Regions from separate parts of the Homo sapiens genome. Here region 1 is linked to region 2. The links are contacts of gene promoters, found by promoter capture Hi-C in human tissues and cell types (Jung and others, 2019). All regions are on one chromosome and are shown on one strand. Each heading gives the region's core, a stretch centred on a gene start or on the middle of the fragment in contact. The rest is flanking DNA. Distances are from core to core; before and after follow the strand shown. Region 1 overlaps EYA2 (EYA transcriptional coactivator and phosphatase 2). Region 2 holds the start of EYA2 (EYA transcriptional coactivator and phosphatase 2).

Region 1 (3,337 bases), core at 606-3,105, 210 kb before region 2:
TGCCTGCCTCAGCTTCCCAAAGTGCTGGGATTACAGGCATGGGCCACCACGCCCAGCCACTGGGCAGATTCGTGAATAAAGGAGCCATGTAGAAAATGGGGAGATGGGCATTCCTGGCACAGGGAACAACAGCAAGTGCAAAGGCTATGTTAAAACCACAAAAAATAAAACCAATGGAGATGCCAATTATAAAGGTCAAGACTGGTCATAAGAACAAAGGTGGAGGACTCCTACTTTCCATTTTTGAAACTTACTACAAAGCTACAGTAATCAAGACAGTGTGGTACTGGCATAAGGGCATACATACAGATCTATGGGATAAAATGAAGAGTCAAGAAATAAACATATTTACGGCCAATTGATTTTTTAAAAAAATTTTTGAGATAGAGTCTGGCTCTGTCGCCCAGGCTGGAGTGCAATGGCATGATCTTGGTTCACTGCAGCCTCCACCTCCCGGGTTCAAGGAATTCTCATGCCTAAGCCTCCCAAGTAGCTGGGATTACAGACGTGCACCATCTCATCTGGCTAATTTTTGTATTTTTAGTAGAGATGGAGTTTCACCATGTTGGCCAGGCTGGTCTTGAACTCCTGGCCTCATGTAATCCACCTGCCTGGACCTCCCAGAGTGCTGAGATTACAGGTGTGAGCCACTGCACCTGGCTGCCAATTGATTTTCTGACAGGATGTTGAGACAATTCAGTAGGGGAAAGAAGAGTCTTTTCAACAAATGCTACTGGGACGACTTGATAGTCATAGGTAAAACAATGAGGTTGCACCCCTGCCTCACATCATACACACAAATTAACTCAAAATGGATCACAGACCTAAATGTAAGAGCTAAAATGAGAAAATTCTTAGAAAAAAGTGCAGGAGTAAATCTCTGTGACCTAGGTTAGGCAATAGGGTCTCAGATATGACACCAAAAGCAAAAGTAACCAAAGAAAATATACATAAATTGCACTTCATAAAAATAAAAAGCTTGGTATTTCAAAGGATACCACAAAGAAAATGGAAAGACAACTCACAGAATGAGAGAGAAAATATTTGCAAATCACATATCTGATAATAGACTGGTATCCAGATATATAAAAACTCTTATAATGATATAAAGACAAACCAATTAAAAATGAGCAAAAGATTTGAATAAATATTTTTCCAAAGAAGATATACAAATGGCCAATAAGCACATAAAAACATCACTAGTCACTTGTCAACATTATTAGGGAAATGCCAATCAAACCCACAATGAGATACCACTTCATACTTACTAGGACTATAGCCAAAAAGGCAGACAATAACATATTGATGAGGATGTGGAGAAATTGGAGCCATTTTACATGGCTGATGGGAAGGTAAAATGATACAGTCACTTTGGAAAATAATCTGGCTGTTCCTCAAAAGCATTAAACCTAGAGTTACCATGTGGCCCAGCAATTCTACTCCTAGGCATATACCTAAGAGAATTAAAAACATATGCACATGCAAATACTTGTATGCCAATGTTCATAGCAGCATTATTCATAATGGCCCAAACTTCAACTATCCAACTGATAAATGGATAGACAAAATATAGTTTATCCATGAACTGTGATATGGTCTGGCTCTGTGTCCCCACCCAAATCTCATCTTGAATCATAATCCAAATTGTAATCCCCTTGTGTTGGTGGAGGAACCTCGTGGGAGGTGATTGGATCATAGGGGTGGTTTCCCCCATGCTGTTCTTGTGGTGGGTGGGTGGGTTGTCACTATGTCTGATCGTTTTACAAGGGGCTCTTCCCCCTACACTCTGAACTTTCTCTCTCCTACTGCCTTGTGAAGAAGGAAGTGTTTGCTTCCTCTTCTGCCATGTTCGTTAACTTTCCTGAGGCCTCTCCAGCCACGCAGAACTGTGAGATGATTTAACCTATTTCCTTTATAAATTACCCAGTCTTGAATATTTGTTTATAGCCATGTGAAAATGGACTAATACACAATGGAAAATTATGTGGCCATAAAAAGGAATGGAGTACTGATACATGCTACAACACGGATGATCACACGTACTGTGTGATTCCCTTTATATGAAATATCCAGAAGAGGCAAATCTGTAGAGAAAGAAAGTAGATTAGTGGTTGTCAGGGGCCAGGGGGAGAAGGAAATGGCAGGGGTGACTGCTAGTGAGTATAGGGTTTCTTTTTGGGGTGATGAAAATATTCTAAAATTAGAGTGGTGATGGTTGTACAACTCTGTGAATATACTAAAAATTACTGAATTGTACACATCGAAAGGGTAAATTATGATATGTAGATTGTATCTCAATAAAATTGTTATTAACAACAACAACAACAACAGGTCCTGGAGTTGAGCTTCATATTGGTAGTGGGCTGCCTAGAAGGCAAGGCACAAAAGGAGGAGTCAGGGCAACTCCCCATGAATCCCTGGAGGAAAGCTGACTAATTTCTTTTAGAATCCCTTCCTGGCCACAGGCAAAGGCTCTTGACCACCTTGCATTTGCCTAATACCAGCTGGAAAAAAACAGAGTTCAGAGACTGCGGAGGAGGGTGGTAGGGGAAGGGAGGGGTTAGGAAAGAGGCAGCAGTCACTGGCTGCTCCAGCTCTCTAGGGAATTTCTAATGGATCCACAAGATGCTGGGAGATACAGCTACCAAAGGGATGTTCTGGCTCTGAGCACTGGGGAGGAAGAAATGGAAAGGAAGTGAAGAGATGACAGCCTCAAGCAGCACATCCCTTGATTGGGAACAGAACGGGAGCCCAGTTTCTGTCTTAAAATTCAAACAACCTATTTTGAATCATTCCCCAATCATTTTAGCTTTGTTGGGCTTAGTTCCCCCAAAAAACAGCAAGTCCCCACTCTGGCTGGTACTATTAATGATTTTGGCTTCCTGCATGGTATGCAGCATGATGGCCACAAGCAAAGTGCTGCTGGTTCTTGTCATGGATGTTCAGGGGATCTTGGCATCCAGTGCCCATTCACTGGACATCCATGGGCCTTCATACTCTTCTGGAAGGATTACTCCAGTTTCCTTTGGGGGACCATCCTCCCTCTCTCACTCTATTTGGTTGAGGTGGAGCTGATCTGCCCCTCCTTTCCCATGCCAGGAGTGGGCTCTTGATTTGGCTGGCCAATCAGAGCTACAGAGGTTGGCATATGGATGGGCATGTGACCCAGTTTGGGACATTGGCATTAACGCCTAGAAGTTGTGCTGGAATGTGGGTACTAGAAATTTCCAGTTTTTAGTTGGGATTGCTGAGAGGGAGTTACCACATGGAGAAAATTGGCTAAGAGATACAGAATGACCTAAGAACATTGCTTAAACATCTGGATCCAGCCAGACCT
Region 2 (2,978 bases), core at 416-2,915:
ATTTATTTATCGAGTAAAATTGTGAAAGATTCTTTCACAAAGATTATTTTGAAAAAGAGGTTCTCTCCTCCCACTCTTTCTTTGTGTACCTCTTTTTTTTTTTGTAAGCAGGATGGTTACATGTGTATGTTAGTTGCTAACAAATGGGTCATAGTCTGGTAAGGTGCTTACTAGTTCTGTATCTATTATGGTCACAGACATTTCACTCAATCAAGAAACGGCTCATGAAATTAATAGATTCGGTTTGAAATACAATTGTCCACTGGTTATAATTTCCTTTGTAAGGGATCTCCCTAACTCAAACATAATTCAGTGCTCAAATTCTTACATGATGTTTGTAAATCATCCTCCTGCCCCTCCGCCCTCGCTAACAGCTAGATTCCAATGTTCAGCTCTTCCACTGCACCTCGTAATTAAAAGGTACCTCTTACCGGGGTGATTTATACCTCCACGTTATATTTTAAAAAGTAATTGAAGATTACATAGCATTTCGGGGAAGGGGAAAGAAAAGAAAAGGGTATCCATAAAAACGCAGCATCGGTCTTGCTTTTTAAAAAGAATTCAGACCGCGGCAGGGTGCACGCTGTCAACTCTCAGCCTCGGCTTCGGGGAAGCAGGAACCTCGCACTGCAAAAGGCGCTTCCAGTTCAACAGCTGAGAAAAGCGCACTGAGTCTTTTGCGATAGGAGTACGTTCACCAGTCACGCTTTCCTAGTATTCCTTGAGCTTATAAACTATTTATTGCTGGGGGGGAGGCAGGCAGGAATATATTGAAGGAGCCTGGGCCAGCACGGCCGTTTAACCTCCAGACTTCATGACTAAAAAACAATTCCATTTCCCACTTTCTCCCATTACAACGAAATCCTTGCCGCCTTCTAAACACCCTTCGGATGTAAACTTTTCTAAGTTTCAACTCTACCCGCAGCAGGCGCCAGGATTCCCTGCCCCGGTTCAAAGCCCCAGACCTGAACCAGAGCGGGCCGAGCGCAAACGGACTTTTGAAAAGAAATATATCAATAGCTAGAAGGCAAAGTCTCAGCGGGCCGTTCCAGCCCCAAGCCGGGATTCCAGCGGTTGGCTCTGCTTCTTGGTTATCCCATAAACACTACCTGAGGGCTTGAGTTTGCGGACTGGGGGAGCGCCCCTTATCGCGAACCGCCGGGACCATAATCGAACAAAACGCCAAGGACCCAGCCGCGTCTACACCGCCTGCGCGCCATGCACTTGTCCCGCGCGCGGGAGAGCAAACTTCAGGGTCGTTGCCCCAAAGCGCATGGGGAAACTGGGGCCCCGAGCCTGGGAGAGCCTTTCCAGAGGGGGGCTCTGCTGCTGTCCCCTCTGCCCTTGTGCCTTCCTGGCCCTGGGAGGCCCGTGCGCCCCAGAACGTCCCGACAGCTGCGGAGGCCCCGCTTGGCGAGTGCCAGAAAGAGGCGCAGGGCGAGGGGGTCCCGGTGAACAACTCCCCCCGCCCGGCGAATCCCGGCGGGCGGCCTGGGGTGGGCGCCGCTGGCGGTACTCACCGCGCGCAGTGGAGAGGGCGCCCCGACGCGGTGCGGGCGGGCGGGCGGGCCGGTGCGGGTCCGACGAGGCCGGGCTGACTGCGGCGGGCACGTTGCTGTCTCTGCCGTTGCCGCTGCCTCCGCCTCCTGGGCTGCCGCGGCTGCTGCCTGCGCCGGGAGGACCGGCCCCTTCTCCTCCCTGGGCCGGGCCCTCCCTCTGCCCCCGCCCGGGTCCCCGCGCCGCTGCGTGGGCGCGTGGGGGCGCCGAGGCGCGACGCTGGGCTACGCGGGCGCACACACCCGGCGGCTGGACGCAGGGCGCGGGGCTCTGGCCCAGCACGTGCCGCCGCGCCGCTTCCTGAGCCTGCAGCCGAGCAGAGCGCGCTCACTCTCGCCGGTCCTGGAGGCCAGGGCCCAGCCTCCTCCCCACCCACCGACACCCCGCACCTCCTCCCTCCCCGGGGCAGCACATCCTCCCTGCAACCCAGGCATGACCCCTGTGAAAGGAACGACGGCTCGGAGAGGACCTCAATAGTGACACTAACATTCGTTCACTCAACCACCCATTCATTCATTCAAAATATATTGAGCATCTACTGTGCCAGGTACCACTCCTGAGAGACTCAGCTAGAACAAGACAGACTAGTTTTCTGCCCTCCCGGAACTTGCATTCACATGGAGAGGCAAACCATAAACAAATAACCAAGTAAAGAAGCAAGACAGTTTCAGAAAGTTAGAGTTACAGGGAGAAAAATAATATATGTATCTGCTGTTGGGGAGTGGAGGAGAGGCGGTAATTTTAGCTAGAGCAGTCAGGGAAGACCTCTCTGAGGAGGTGACATCTGAATTATGAGGAAGTGCCATTGGTGTGGTATTTAGGTGAGAACGGTTCAGGGGTCTCCCCTATGTTTCACCCATTTTACAGCTAAGGAAACTGAGGTCTCAAGAGCTTAACTGGTTTAGTGAAAGTGAGAGGTATAGCCCCCTCCACCTACATGCCCAAATCAAGGCACCCCACTTACTCCATCCTCTCATAGCCACCCCCCTTTTAGTCTCCCTGGCAATGAACTGTGTTAATTGGAGTCTATGCAGCCTTTCCTAGCCCGTCACCCACTCTCTAATGTCTATGAATTCCACCGTGGGACACCCAGGATGCTTCAATCCAAAAGCAATATCAACCACTGTCATTTCTTAAGTGCAGTAAAAGACAGGGCACCCAGGTGAATTTGAATTTCAGAGAAACGAGGAATCAGTTGCAGTATATGTCTTATGCGATTGGTTGTACGTACTTATATTTAAAAAGTATTTCTTTTGTCTCCGAAATTCCAATGTAACCGGGGGTCCTATATTTTTATTTGCAACCTTAAGCTCATCCAATGCCCAACTCTTCCTTATCTCATGTAATCCCCAAGAGAGACCCCAAGGTAGCTGCTGTCAGCACACTCATTTCACAAATGAGCAGGTCCAAGCTCAAAGAAG

The links. The method cuts DNA at HindIII sites, captures the fragments that hold promoters and counts their contacts. A contact is called where the count stands out against the background at its distance.
Region 1: a fragment that was not itself captured here is called in contact with the fragment with the promoter of EYA2 in region 2 in 3 of the 25 tissues and cell types used here (H1 embryonic stem cells, dorsolateral prefrontal cortex and mesendoderm cells).

The regions. Positions count from the first base shown.
Region 1 is chr20:47,102,064-47,105,400 of GRCh38, reverse strand. The region is part of intron 9 of EYA2 (EYA transcriptional coactivator and phosphatase 2); the gene reads right to left. Among named protein-coding and RNA genes, the nearest start is that of MIR3616, 63 kb to the left of the region's middle. The HindIII fragment of the contact is 6,554 bases long and covers 1-3,337 here.
Region 2 is chr20:46,893,530-46,896,507 of GRCh38, reverse strand. EYA2 (EYA transcriptional coactivator and phosphatase 2) reads right to left here and starts at 1,665. Exons shown (of 16, transcript NM_005244.5): 1 at 1,521-1,665. The HindIII fragment of the contact is 22,949 bases long and covers 1-2,978 here.